Linked DNA regions of Homo sapiens: region 1 is linked to region 2. The links are contacts of gene promoters, found by promoter capture Hi-C in human tissues and cell types (Jung and others, 2019). All regions are on one chromosome and are shown on one strand. Each heading gives the region's core, a stretch centred on a gene start or on the middle of the fragment in contact. The rest is flanking DNA. Distances are from core to core; before and after follow the strand shown.

Region 1 (7,219 bases), core at 2,652-5,151, 660 kb after region 2:
TACTCCAAAGCCATTGAGTCTGTGATTCTGTAAGCCTAAAATGTTTTAATTCATATATTTTGGTGAAGGCATTTAAGCCCTTTCCTCTGATTCTCTATGGGAGATTCTGTCCCAATCCATAAGCATTTACTTGTGGTTGTTATATATATTTCATAATGGACTTACTGATTACTCAACAAACATGAATTGCCTACCTCGTGCCATGTACCACAGCTACTGCTGGGATCTGGCAATGATCAGACAGGCAAGGCTCTACCCTAATGGAGTTTGCATTCAAATGAATTAAGGGGATTCATAGACAGGTGAAACATACCCCCCTGTCCTCAGGATGACATTATAGCTTAATTGAGAAGACAAAAGCTTCAATAGCCAGATAAGATTTAAGTCAGTATGTGAAAATGGCCTTCACAGAAATATAAACAGGAGTTCCACTGTGCTGTGTGTGAAAGGGAGAAGCTAGAAGCAATGAATATAGGCTGTGCTTTCTAGGTGTTTAACTCTGGAAGAGTGGCTGGTGGGAAGTGATCTGGACACTTGAGAGGTCAACTGGAAAATGATGAAAATTAACCTGGTAATTGGTGTCTATTTCTGGTCCCAGAAGAGATGCAAAAATTTTATGCAGAATATGCATGAAATTGTTCATCTCACCCTATAGTCACATTATTCTTTGAGATTCCAATTAAGTGGTAGCTAGAATCATTAGATGCTTTCTGTTCTGAATATTAACCTTATAAATATTAACTTTGTCCTCATAATAACTATCTGAGGGTAGGTACCCTTATCATCATACCCATTTTACTGATGAGGAAACTAAGATATCAAAAGAGTAAGTAACTTGCCCAAAGTGATTTGGCTGCCAAGTCATGGATTCAAGCCCAAACCGGCTGGCTCCAGAGCTTACACGCTCACCACTGTGCTATATTGTTTCTTAAGCCTTCAATTAAAAAGTCAATCGGAATTTTCAGAGATACATACTAAGTGTGCAGGAGTGAGGTGACCTGAGGTCTGGGATTGGTTTAAAATAATTCAGCAAGTCTAAGGAAGGAAGGAAGAGCCAATTATGCTAAAATCTTGATAAATGTTTACTCTGGGTGATGTTTATAATGTTTATAGGGGTCATTATAGCATTCCCTAATTTCCGTAATAAAAAATAGGAACTGTTTCTAGTGAACTTGGAGATTTTGAAATACTTATTATTGTACTGTTAATATCAAAAGACTTTTCAGTTATCTGGGTAATTTAGATCAAAGCAACAAATTTCACTGTTATTAATGTAATGTGGCCATGAAATGCAGTGCCCTTTTCTGTATATTAAAACCTATTTTCCACCTAATCCCCAAGTGTAACAGCTAAATACCTTAAAAAAAATCAAGAAGGGTGTATCCTGCCAAACATATTTGATAGAATAGCAAAACGTTTGAGTTAGAAGAGACCACAAAGATAACTTCTTCCAAAATTCCCATTTAACCGCTATGGCAGTTAAAGCTAGGAGAATTTAAGTGATCAGCCCACGATTGAAATGGGAATATGAAACGATGATCTATAGTCAGTCACGTAGCCAAGTACTGGAAGAGCAGGAGTTAAAAACCTGGGTTTCCTGGACTCCAGGCCTTTGTATCTCTCATCAGAAGGAGGTTGTGCCAGTAAAGGGCTAAGCAGCCCATATGGAAATGTGGACACCAGGCTTCACTTGTGATTCCTGCTACATCAGGCAGTTGCCAAGTTAGAAGCCTGGGATGTAAGATGAAGAAAGGTGAGTCCCCTTCGGCTTGGAACTGGAAGAGGTCAAATGGCCCTTTCCCCTCCCAAACGGAGCCATGCAAGCCCCATTTATCTTGTGTGTTTTATCCACATTCCTTGTTCACAGGTTTTAGCCGCATCAACCACAAAGGGCATAATTGGAAAAATCATAATTGTTATACTTGAAGATACTTCTCAGAAGTGCATTTGGGGCTCTGTGTCAATAAACCCACCCCATGAAGGGCCAGAAGCCAGGGCCAGGCATTTCTTGGGAGGGAGGGATGGAAATGGTCTTGGTGAGGGTGCGTAGAGTCACCACACCACTGTTGAATTAATCACTGACCTCATCTCTCCATCCTGAGGATTCTTGGAGGACATTGCGAGAGCTAAAATCTCCTCATTCCCAAGGCTGGTGTGCACCTTTTCCATTGCCTTTGTTGGTGTACACTTCTTAAGGTCTGGGAGGCCTCAAACCCCAATGTTTCAGGACCCCAGCAGGTGAGGTAAATGAATAAAGCTGGCCAGTGTAAGACCGGGGCAAACTGAGAAGAACAAACTTCATCCTTATTCAAAGGTTTTATAACACTGGGCTGTCTGCACAAAAAGCCTGGGCAGGTCAGCAGACAATTGACTTCCTCTGCTATAGAGGATAGACCCTGGTGAGGAAAGCAGGAGGCCTGGGTACCATCACTGGCTCCCTATGACTTGAGTACAGCCTTCCCTTGGCAGAGCCTCAAGCGCTTTCATCTGTTAAGAAGTGGGTCTGTGAGTCTCCAAGGTGCCACCACCTCTGACAGTCTAATTCTGTGATCTGTGATAGAATACATATCTCAAAACAACTGGAGCCACTGTCGGTCTGTCCAACATATATTTGCAAAATGCGTGCTGTGCCTGTTTGATCTAACTGACTTTTTGGAACTTGGTGTCCTTGAGATCTTTGGATGGGTTTGTGCATTAACCTTAAGTGCTTTGATCCCTGTAATATAATAAAATGGCCTACACTTAACCATCATTCTGGTACCACTCTCTGTGTCAGAGGTTGTTGCTCTTTTATTTGCCAGTTTTCTTTCTAAAAGCAGTCATGAGCAGACAAGCTTAGAAAGGGTATTTTCTTCGTGTTGTTTCAGGGAAAATAGAGAAAGTCAAACCTCCTCCATCCCCCACCACTGAAGGCCCCAGCTTGCAGCCTGACTTAGCCCCTGAAGAGGCTGCCGGAACCCAGCGGCCCAAGAATCTGATGCAGACCCTCATGGAAGACTATGAGACACACAAATCTAAAAGGCGCGAGAGAATGGATGATAGTAGTGTAAGTTTTTCCTCCTTTCCTCTTTCACTTCTCTGAGCGCGGCCATCGGTGTGGCGTGTGGCATTCCAGTTCAGGCACAAATGTGTATGTCGTTGTCTGGTCAGCATTAGGGTTCCAGTATCAGTTTTCATATATGTGGTTTCACATGCCTGGAACTGGGTTTGGGTTTTTGCCTGTTTCAAAAAAAAATTGTTGATCTTGCAGGGAGCTGGTCCTTTGCTGCCAAGTATAGCTGGAGTCGACCAGCAAGGCTAGTGTGTAAGATGTTTGGTGCATAGAAAGACAGCATGCAAGGGCCACGCAGGGAGAAGGTTGCAAGTGCCCTGAAATCATCCCTATGCACCTGGGAGCTGATTTCTACCATTGCCCAGTAGAGATTTTATTTCTCTAGAAAAGGATGAAGATGCTGTTCCTTCAAAGCCGACACTCTAGGCAATCCCTAACAATGTTACAGTGCTTAAAAGACTGAGTGTGTTTGGGGCTGTTAACAAGCCCATGTGCATAGCTTGAAAGCAAAGAGCCAGTGAAAATGACAGTTGAAAACCACATGGCTACTCTGCTACACCCAAGCCCTCGGAACTTTGCACATAACGTTCAAATTAACTGTGAAGGAAGTCACATGCTCTGTGGTTTCTTTCTCCGGTTAGAGACATAGGAACTGTTGCTCTACACAGTCCCAGGAGCCTGGAGATCAGCCTCAGGGTTCATGCCAACCTCCTGTGGGTCTTCTGGCACCAGTCTCTTAGCACATATTGAAGTCATCACCTCCTCCCCTGACTGCACTTAAGTCACAGATAGCTTGGGTTGGTTGAGGATCCTACTGAGTTTACCTGAGACAGTCCTGGCTTATGCCTGTTGTGGTGTTGTGGTTATTAATATCCCCTTCAACTCTTTTGTTGTTGTTGTTGTTGTTGTTGTTGAGACAGGGTCTGTCTCTGTCACCCAGGCTGGAATGCATTGATGTAATCATGGCTCATTGCAGCCTCGACCTCCTGGGTTCAGGCAATCCTCCCGCCTCAGCCTCCTGAATAGCTGGGACCACACGCGTATGCCACCATACCTGGCTTATTTTTTAACTTTTTTGTAGAAAGGAGGTCTCATTATGTTGCTCAGACTGTTCTTCAACTCCTGAGCTCAAGGGATACTCCCACCCCAGCCTCCTAAAGTGCTGGGATTACAGACATGAGCCACTGCACCCAGCCTGCCTTTCACTCTTGAAAGTGTCCCAGTTTGGGTGATAAACCATCTGGTCACCTTAAACTTGAATGCTATGAAGTTCACAGTAAGAATTCCCTGCTGTTTTATTGCCTTTTATATCCTAGCTGGCTAAGTTAAAGGATTTCTGGAGTTGAAGCCCAGATGCTGAAAGTTGCTTTCAAAATATATGGCGGTAAAGAAAGGAAGAAAGCAAATGGATATCTGGCAGCCTGGCTTCTCACTTGGCATCTCCCAGGCTTTCCCTTTTGTTTACACCTGAACTGCGTGGAGCACTGGCTCAGCTGCTGTATTAGGCTGCAGCTATTCTACTGGGCTCTTCACTGTATTAGACAGTGGGATGATGCCCGGCCCTGGGTAGCTGCTGCAGACATTTCCACTGCTGAACCTCACTGTAGGGGAGCCAGCAGCTCCTTTCGTGAGCCTGCAGGATTTTTCCCTGGCTACTCAGTCACTTTCACCAGCCCTTCTTTGAAGCCCCACTTCAAAGGATAAAGTTTGCCTTAAGAATTTTCTGAAAGTTAAATCATTTTGAAACTTGGTGCTCTAGGTGTCTGGTTTCTTTTCTCCCAGTGACTCTGCTCTATACATCAGCAGTTTTGGTAGAATTTAGCCAAGTGGGTGCCCCACACTCTGATGTGGATGGGGAAGAACAAGTAGAACCACTTAGCATGTGACCCACGCGAGTGTTTGCTGAACACACTCTACTTGTCACTTGTGTATGTCTTTTGTGTTGGAGTGCAGATGATAGGGAAAAATACTCCATACAGAAGGGTAGAGGCAGTTCTCACTCATTTCGTAAAGGCAGAGGGCTGGAAGCTCTTTTGTGCACACGCTGACACTCTGGCAGCCACCTAACAAATGCCAACCAGGTTGAGTTTTTCCTCTGCATGAATGAAGCTGCTTGGAATCAGCGTTTTAATATGCTGATTGCCCTTCACTTACAAATCAAAGAGGCAGCCTCCTGTCTCTATATTTTCCAGTAAATAAACATTTTGAAAAAGAAAGAGACCTAACTAATTAAGCTGTTAATATCCCTGGATCTTGGATTCAAAGCCAAATGTTTTGCACTGTTATTGCTATTACAACAGAACCAAGTTTGCTGTTGTTGAAAATTCTTAGGATCAGGACAAAATCTACCAATCCACTATATGCTCATTTAAGAGACCCAAATCTAAAACAACAAATTCAGATTGCTTCTAAAGCAAAGATATGATCATCAGTCAGGCTTCAAATGAGAGCCTTCTCCTAGCCCTTCCAATTTAGGGGACCTTTTCTCCTGTATCTGTGTCAATCACTGGTGAATGTGTTGAAGTTTACCTGTAGGGATGAACAAACATTCATTTTTTTCCTAACCAATCTGTGGCCCCTTTTCCATTTTTTCTTTTTCTTTAATACCAGAAGGATAGTAATAGAGAGCAGATGGATTGCTGGGGGGATGAGTTGTGTAACTGGCTTACCTATCCGTAGAAGCATAAAGTTAATTCTCTTAAAGGTAAAGTAATTCTGGTCTCTAGCCTCCATTTACATACACTATTCTCACAGAGAAACATGGCTTCTTAGACTCTCCACCCTCTAAGCACCTCAGTGGCTCACACCTACACACCCAGCATCTCCCCATGTTATGCAGCATCACCCCTGGCACCTCCATTTGCCAATATTTTTTCCAGTAAGCCACTTGGCAGCATTTTGGCATGCCGTTTTGGAGATGATAAACCACACCTGAGAATCAATGCCTGTCGCGTGATTAGAACACAACCATGTGTTTGCCCATCGAAAGTAACAGTTATTTGTGAATTGAGCAAAAATAATTCTTATTTTTTATTCTTTTTAAGGAGAAGGCAGAGTTAAAAACAAGACAGGCGCTGATCATTGGAATGTGTATAAAGTGTGATATGTTAGACACAATGGTATCGAGGAGAGTGAAAGACAGAAGGAGAAAGATAGAATGTAGCTACGGCTGAAGTTTTGCTGAGTGAGAAAAACTGATCTTTGCCATCAAAACAAGTTCAGTGTCCCCCGAGCCCCCATCAGGGGTGTGGTGGCCTCTGGGGTCCTGTCCACAGGGACTCAGCTCAGGGCCCTGCTCTCTCCAGTTTTCCACTTTATAAAAAGTCATATGCAGAGAGGCCCCTGGCTTATGGGAGTCAGGGAGTGGTGTTATCCAAAGGTTGTCCCCAACCAGCCATATTTGTTACTAGCTCAGAACTTGAGCAAAGTACTCCCTTTAGTTGCCACAGTCTTCACCCACCTGGGCTGATTTCTTTGTCCTGTATATTGGAGTCACCAATGAGTATCTCCAGCCTCACTTATTAATGGACCTCTTGGCTAATTCTGAGGGCAGGAGGATTACCATCCCCACCCCTACCCACTTACCCAAGGCTGTTTACCAACCTATGCAAGGCCTTTGTGTGAATTAGGAAAAAAAACCACCCTTGTTCCTCTATGAAGATATGAAGATGCAGCCCTGCACCAGCCACACATTTGGGGGGTAGAGTAGGGGACTGGGCTTTAGTACCATTCATCCCTTTAGTCTGATGCTTTTGTGCAGTGCACACAACACACACCCAGATGCAGCAATCCTATTCATATTGTGGGTTTCTCTTATCTGGAAATGTTCTCTTATGTGGAAATGTCCACTTATCTGGGTCTCATACCATTTCTGCTCAGTCATGCAATTCATAATGGACTAGTGAATCCTAGTTTCCTAAAGGGCTTCTTGATGCCTTGCAAAGCGACTGCCTCCAAGGTGGGGTTGCCCACTCATGGACCTGGAAGACATTTGGATCAGTGGGCACAAATGATGGGCTATTTGGATGTTTTTCCTTCAGGCATGAAGAACCCCTCTAGGAAACTCTGATTCATTAGTCCATCCTGAGTGACATGACTGTATTTAGGCAAACAGTATTTTTCCAGCCAATTGTTTCCCTAACCTGACCTGAGCCTCAGAAAGTGAAG
Region 2 (7,177 bases), core at 2,892-5,391:
AGTGAACACCAAGAGGCTGGATTTGGCTGGGTGCGGTGGCTCACGCCTATATCTCCACACTTTGGGAGGCCAAGGCAGGAGGACTGTTTGAGCCCAGGAGTTCGAGACCAGCTTGGGCAACATAGTAAGACTTTGTCTCCACAAAAAATAAAAAATTAGCTGGGTGTGGTGGCACATGCCTGTAGTCCCAGGTGCGAGGTACAAGGAGGACTGCTTGAGCCATGATCGGGCCACTGCACTCCAGCCTGATGACAGAGTGAGACCTTGTCTCAAAAAACAAAAAAGACCAGGTTGGACTTGGAGAAGAATCACCACGCCTATGATCCACAAAGTCTCTTCATGCCTTTGCCCCTGCTGTTTTGCCTGCCCTAAATGCCATCTTGTTCCTAAGTTTGAGGCTTAATTCAAATTATGCCTTGAAGTTAGAACTAACTTCTCCCCATGGTTAGAACTACGCTCCACAGTGTCTCCTGATGCCCATCGGAATGAATGGCTGCATCCTCTGGTGTCTCTTGCACCTAGCTTATCCTTTTAAAGTACTTACAGGACCATGGACAGATGGATGGGGACGCACATACACATATACAAACTGTCTTTCCAAATCCACCATGAATCCTTCCAAGGCAGGGGTTCAGCGTTCACCTCTGTAGCCCTATGGCCTAATACATGGTAGAGACTCAATAAATGTCTCAATTTGCTGTTAAATCTGTGCTCACACCTGGTCTTGGAATAACAAGTTAACCTGGGGGCAGTGGGAAGCTTCAGGTGCACACACAAGCAGAAGCTCTGGAGATGCAACATTTCTGGGTCTTAGAACCCATTACCAAATCAGTTTTCAGCCAGGGGCTTACCAAGCACTTCTCAGGTCCTTCTCGGCCAGAGGAAAGAAGACATCTATAAGATCAGGCTCTGAGGTCACCTGGACCCAGCCAAGAGCAGTGTGGACACTGACCTGGTCTCCTCCTGTCTCTATTAGAGTTGGAATGAAGAGCTGATGCTGGGTAGGCTACTGCACCCCCACCAGCCCTTCCAGACCAGGGTATGTGCTGGGTGCCTTCAGCATTCCAGCTTCTACAACAGATCTTGGGAAAAGATAAAGAGGCATTGTCCCTGCTTTCCAGGACCGCAATGCTGGAAGGTGAGCTCTCCTGGGAAAAGATGTAGGGACCACAAATTGCTGGTCTTTTCTCAACCACCACAAACCCGGAGGGTTGGGGAAAGGCAGGGTGCCATGTCTTCTCACTCCCTCCCATCCCCAAAGCTGAGCCCTTCTGGTAGGTTATGCCTGTCCTAGAAAATGTCTCTTGTGTGCCTGGACCTGTAGTTCAGAAGGTCAAAATTGGTCCCTCTTGCTCCTGGCCCCACTCTACCTTTGCCAGCTCAGTTTCCTTATCTGCAAGGTGGGGAATGGGGTGGGGTTTGGCAGCAACAAACCCCACTGTGTGTGAAACCTTCCAGTTCACAGCCAACAAAGCGTTGCTCTCAATTCTCTGAAGCCAATTACCACCTCGGAACCCCAGCTTTTTCCAGGGATAAGATTTGTCTCTGACCTTGCCTCCCTAACCAGGTCTCTGAGACTTGAATGAGAATGCTTAAAACTACCAGAGTATCTTCTGTATGATAAAAGATGAATCGAGGGGTCAGAGACATGACTGATGATATGGTAAGGGATCCTGAATCTGCTTCCATGGTAACTTGGGCTTTTTCTCCTGCTCCAAGCTGTCTGAGGGCCCACCACCTGTCTGGCCTGACCAGGGCCTGCCCTTTCCTGCACGGAAGTGGATGCAGGCAACCTGGATTCTCTGGGGTGCACCCCACATCCCCACTCAGCACTACATCTGCCATACAGAAGTTCAATAAATGCCTCAGCTACTCTGAAATGCCTTCAGTAACTTGACCTTTTATATTCCCCAGCTAATGTCTAATTTGCATATATGAGTCCTTTTTAGGAGATGGCAAATCACCAGAGAAAACGCAGGATCAATACAGAGTATTAGGCACGTTCTATTCTACTCTAATTCTCTGCAAATTGGTATTCCATTAACTGCATGTGGGATTTATGGGAGCTCGCTATAAACTAGAATATTTAACTAGAATGGCCTACTCTGTCAGATAATAGCTTACTGTTGTTAATTTTCAACTAGTCAATCTCAGAAAAGTTTCCAACTTCCAATATACTTCACATCTTGATTTAATCATCCGGAAAGTCATCCATATCAAAGCCTCCATACAACAAAGGGACAGGCAGCTTGATGCAGAAGAAAAAGACCTGCCCTTGGAACCAGGAGACTTGGGTTACACCCCAGCTCTACCACATACTGTGTAATTGGCTGCTCAGAGCCTCCATGTCCTCATCTGTAAAATGGGAGTGACACCAGTCTCACAAGGGAGTTGTAAAGATTAAATAAGACGATACAGGTGAATGTACTCTGTAAGTTCTATAAGGCTATGCAAAGGTTAGTTATTACAAAAGCACAAGATGAAATTCTCAAACAACTCGGGCTAATGACAGAAAGCAAGAATTAAATTGGTGGTTCTAAAGGGGTGCTGGGGTGGCATTTTGCTCCCTAGGGGACATCTGACAATACTGGAGGCATTTTTGATTGGAACAACTGGGGAACAGGAATTGCTACTGGAATCTACAGACCAGGGATGCTTCTAAACCCTACAATGCCCAGGACACAAAGAATTATCAAACCCTAAATGTCAATAGTGCAAGGCTGAGAAACCCTGATCTAAATAATCGCTTAAAGTTGGATTTGGGAGCTTTTTAAAACAGAAATCTTCCTAAGCAGGCTTTACTTTCTCCCATCATCTGCTTAAACATTTGCAAGATGGATCATCTTGCAAAACAGCTCTTTTGTAAGTGAAGCCAACTGCCAACTTCTGGAGTTTCTGAATGTATAAAACTGCTTTTAAAGGAGATGCTCTCTGATTACAATTCGGCTAAATTGTTTTTCCGAAGGCCTTGACTTCGGCAGAAGTTCTCCTGGGCACAGAGACAGGGTCTGTCACTCCACCACTAGGCCCTGAAGATGGTTTCCTAATTCTAATTTCCTCCTGAAATGAGAGCCACGAGGGTCTCTAAACGAATTAAATTCACATCACGCCAACTGCTTGCTAGCTTTGTGCCGGGCACGGTGCCAAACACCTCCACATAATTTATCCCACTTAATCCACTCAACAACCCAGCGAGGTGGGCATTATTACCAGCTGATTGCAAGGGAGGAAACTGAGGACCAGAGAGGTTAAACAACTTGCCAAGGTCACCAGCTGGCCAAGGGGGAGCCCAACTTGAACGGAGGTCTCCAGTTTCCAAGTCACAAGCTCTTTCCACCAGCTTGGAAAACCCAGGTGTCAAGTTGTCTCAACTTCCCATGAATTTTTAAGGCAACCGCAACTTCTCAGTAAGTTTAGGTAGCTGAAAATGGGAATTTCGGGGGGGCTGGGCACTCTCACATACACTCCCCCATCTGCAGCTGTCTCACCGCAGGTACCTGATAAATCATTCCATATCGTCCGCGGAACGGGGAGGATTTATTGGCTCTGGAGTTTCGTGCCAGGCCCAGGAAATGCCATCTTTGAAAGCCGAGAGGCGGATTCGCCCTGGGAGCCGAGCGCTGGCAGCCGCTCTCGGCTAGCTCCCCGCGGGCTGTGTGCCCCCTCGGAGCCCCGAGCCGGGGTCGCGGCGGCACGGGGTCCTCCGGAGGTGCCGGACGCACGGGCTCCGCGGGTTGCGCCCGCCCCTGCCCGGCTGGAGCGCACGCCCACGCTCCGGCGCCGCGTCCCGGCCGCCAGCCCGCCCCGGCCGAGCCCCACCCGGCGCCCCGCCCGCGCCCTCCCGCCCCGGCCCCGCCAGGTGAGCGCAGCGGGGCGCCCCCTCCCCGCCCCGACGTGGTGCGGGGATCCCGGTGCAGCCGCACCCGCCAGCCCGCCCGCGCGTCCGCCGCGCGCCCCAGGGACGGGTGGGGGCGGGGTGGCGCCGAGCGCGACCCCGGCCCCCGGCAGCCCCGCACCCTGCCCCCGGCCCGCTGGGGTCGCACGGGCCCGTACCTGCAGCATCCGGGGGCGCGGAGCGCCCAGGTAGGTCGCGCGTGCGGGCGGCGCGGAAGCTCGCTCGCGGCGCGACCTGGCCGCCGTCTGAGCATGCCCAGTGCCGCCCGCGGGCGGTTCCCGCCGGCCGGGCTGGCCGCGACGGGCCCGCGCGCCGGGCGGGGGGCGGGCGTCCGGGCTGGCCTGCGGTGTTCTCCCGCCCCCGCCCCGGGCTGGCGCGCCCCGACGCATCTCCTAGGGGCACCGGGGCTCTCCGCCGAGCTCCGGGCAGGTCCTGAGTTCCCTCGCGCATGCATGCAGCCATTCGTTCCACAGCCATGACTGGGCACCTACTGTGTGCCAGGCCCTCAGTGATTTCATGCCTAGGGAAGGCAAGAAGTCGGCGCCCAAAGAAACTTTGAAATGAGGAGTCTTGCACGACGGGTGCGCGGTTGAGCTGAGGTCCCGCTGACTTCCAGTCCAGTGCTCGTCCCTTGGCACTAGTAAGCTTCCCTGGTTAAACCTCCCCAAGGCTCGTGGGACCCCTACCTGATCTGTGCTCCTGCTTCCCACCTCCGTCTCATCTCACACCTGCCTTCCTGCGGATCCTAGAGCGCCTTTCTGTCCATCAAACACTCGAACTTCACTAACCTCAGGACATTGGCGCCCGCCTTTCCCTCTGTGGGACGTTCTTGCCCAGCTTTTCACGTGGCCGGCGCCTTCTCATTGTACATAGGTCCCCTCCTCAGAGAGGCCTTTCCTGACCACCTTCCTCGATTAGCCCTCTGCTCCTGACCACTCCGTGTACTCTGTTTTCTTCATAGCATTTAACAGTGATTTATCCATTTTCAGCAAATATTTATTGAGCACCTATTCTGGTTTTTCTCGCGTGGGGAACAAATAGACAAAAATTCTGTCCCCCAGTGGAGTTTGGGGAAAGAGGGACAGGTAACAGATAAACAGCAAATTAGCAAACTATGCATTATATTAGAAAGTGATAAGTTCTAAGAGGAAAAAGAGCAGGGTCAGGAGATTTGGGGCTGGAGGTAAGCAGTGAATTTTCAGTGAAGCGGTCGGATAGGGCCCTTGAGCTGATGGACGGTCTGATTGGGTGACACTGAGAAGGTGATAGTGGTATTTCAGCCACGCAGATAAGCAGGGAAGAGCATTCCTGGCCGAGGGAACAGCCAGTGCCAAGACCCAAAAGAGCGCCGGACCGCTTAGGGAACGGCAAGGAGGCAGAGGAGCAGATGAGGTTGGTCACTTTGGCTTTTCCTCCGATTTGTTTAATTCTCATGTTGTATTTCCCTCCTAAATGTCAGCTTTGGGGCTGTAGCTCTGCTTGTCTTTACTGCAGTGACCCCCCTGCAACACTGTCTGGCACACACTAGGCGCTCAAACATTATTTGTTGAATATGTGAACGAAGGGATGCAGAGATGGTTGGAACCCTCCAGTCGGGCCTGGGTGCCAGGTCCTGGGGGCAGTCGTTCCAGGGATAGACTGAGGCCTCGGCAGCCCCTGGAACCTCATTTCGGTCCTTGTCCCGGAGTCGCACGTCCCGGGATAGCGCCGCTGCAGCGGGTGCCGCCCGTGCATCGCGTCGGGGGGATTTCCGACGGAGCCCGGAGTCCAGGGGCAGGACCGCCCGCGCCCCGCCCGGCCCGGCCCGGCCTCGAGTCGCCAGCAAAACCTGGAGCCGCGGCGCCCGCTCAGCACCACTCGGACGGGCGGGGAGCGCACTGGGCATGCTCGGAGCCGGGCGGGGCCGGAGCCCCCGGAAGGAGGAGCCCCCTGGAGGGGCAGGCGACGCCCCCCGCAGAGCTCCACCCAGCGCCCCCGGGCTCAGCAGGAGGCATTCTCTGTCCTTTCCCCACTGCCTTATCCTCTCTGTGCTTCAACCATTGTGAATACCTACGCTTCGATCTGGGCACCCGAGTGGAAGTTGAGTGAAATAAGGAACGTGAACGTGTTTAGACCACCTTAAAGATCCATTTCTTGAGTGCCTACCAAAATCAGCCGTCATCCTCATGCCAGTTTGCCAACTGCTGAGATGAGGAAACCGAGGTCAACGGAGGATGTGTGAATTTTCGAAGTTGTCTTAATCTGCTGACCCCTAGACTGAAATTACCTTTTCTTTTCCCACAGCTAACAGCTGTTAGCTTAAACGATGCCCTCAACTTTGAGCTAGGAACATGCTTACACCTAAAGGAAAGACCTAAATATTTTAAAAATCATGCGTTTTAAATCACCATAACAGAAGCAGGAACAAAATGAAAGAATACTCCCCAAATTGGAAACAAACTAAGTACTCAATAACAGAGGGATGATTAATTAGGTTATGGTATATTAGTTGAAATAATAACTATCTTACACTAAGTTAAAAAGACCATGTTGCAACAGGGAAAACACGGTACAATGTTAAATGAAAAAAAAAAAAACCGCAGAAAACAGGTCGGGTGAGGTGGCTCATGCCTGTAATCCCAGCACTTTGGGAGATCCAGGTGAGAAGGTAGCTTAAGCCCAAGAGTTCAGGACCAGCCTGGGCAACATAGCAAGACCCCATCTTTACAAAAAAAAACTTATCCAGGTGTGGTGGCATGCACCTGTGGCCTCAGCTACATGGGAGGCTGAGGTGGGAGGATCTCTTGAGCCAGGAAGGTCAAGGCTGCAGTGAGTTGTGATGGCACCATTTGTACTTCAGCCTGTATGACAGAGCGAGATTCTGTCTCAAATAAAAAAAAAAAAAAAAGCTAAAAACACAAATAGATTGTATAAACATGGTGTTGACACATTCACCAAGACTGGAAGGAAATATGGGAAAATTAACTAGTCATTTTTTTGGAGTAGTAAGTTTGGGTGTTTTTTAAAAGTTTATTAATGTCACAATGACATGTTTGCAATAATAAGCATTTAAAAGATCAAATTAAAAATTCTTGTTTTGTGTATATCCAGTTACAGTAACTGCTATTATCAAGCTCAAGTACGATGAATATTTTATATATATTCTCTCTTTAATCCTTACCATCACTCTACAGAGTGGGTGTTTTAGCTCAGTTTTACAGAAGAGAAAACAATCTAGGGGCTGTTCACAGCTGTTAAGGGGGTGAGGATTTGAACACAAGTCAATCTGATCTCAAAGTCAGG

The links. Contacts are between HindIII fragments. The study calls those that stand out against the background at their distance.
Region 1: a contact is called between a fragment that was not itself captured here and the fragment with the promoter of PTPN3 in region 2, in 1 of the 25 tissues and cell types used here (dorsolateral prefrontal cortex).

What each region holds. Positions count from the first base shown.
Region 1 is chr9:110,153,452-110,160,670 of GRCh38, forward strand. It overlaps PALM2AKAP2 (PALM2 and AKAP2 fusion), which reads left to right. Exons shown (of 11, transcript NM_007203.5): 9 at 2,868-3,046. It overlaps LOC124902244 (a long non-coding RNA gene), which reads left to right. Exons shown (of 2, transcript XR_007061727.1): 1 at 1-302; 2 at 1,629-2,752. Among named protein-coding and RNA genes, the nearest start is that of C9orf152, 51 kb to the right of the region's middle. RefSeq lists a silencer at 3,542-3,591. The HindIII fragment of the contact is 9,360 bases long and covers 1-7,219 here.
Region 2 is chr9:109,494,166-109,501,342 of GRCh38, forward strand. PTPN3 (protein tyrosine phosphatase non-receptor type 3) reads right to left here and starts at 4,142. Exons shown (of 26, transcript NM_002829.4): 1 at 4,054-4,142. The HindIII fragment of the contact is 6,343 bases long and covers 37-6,379 here.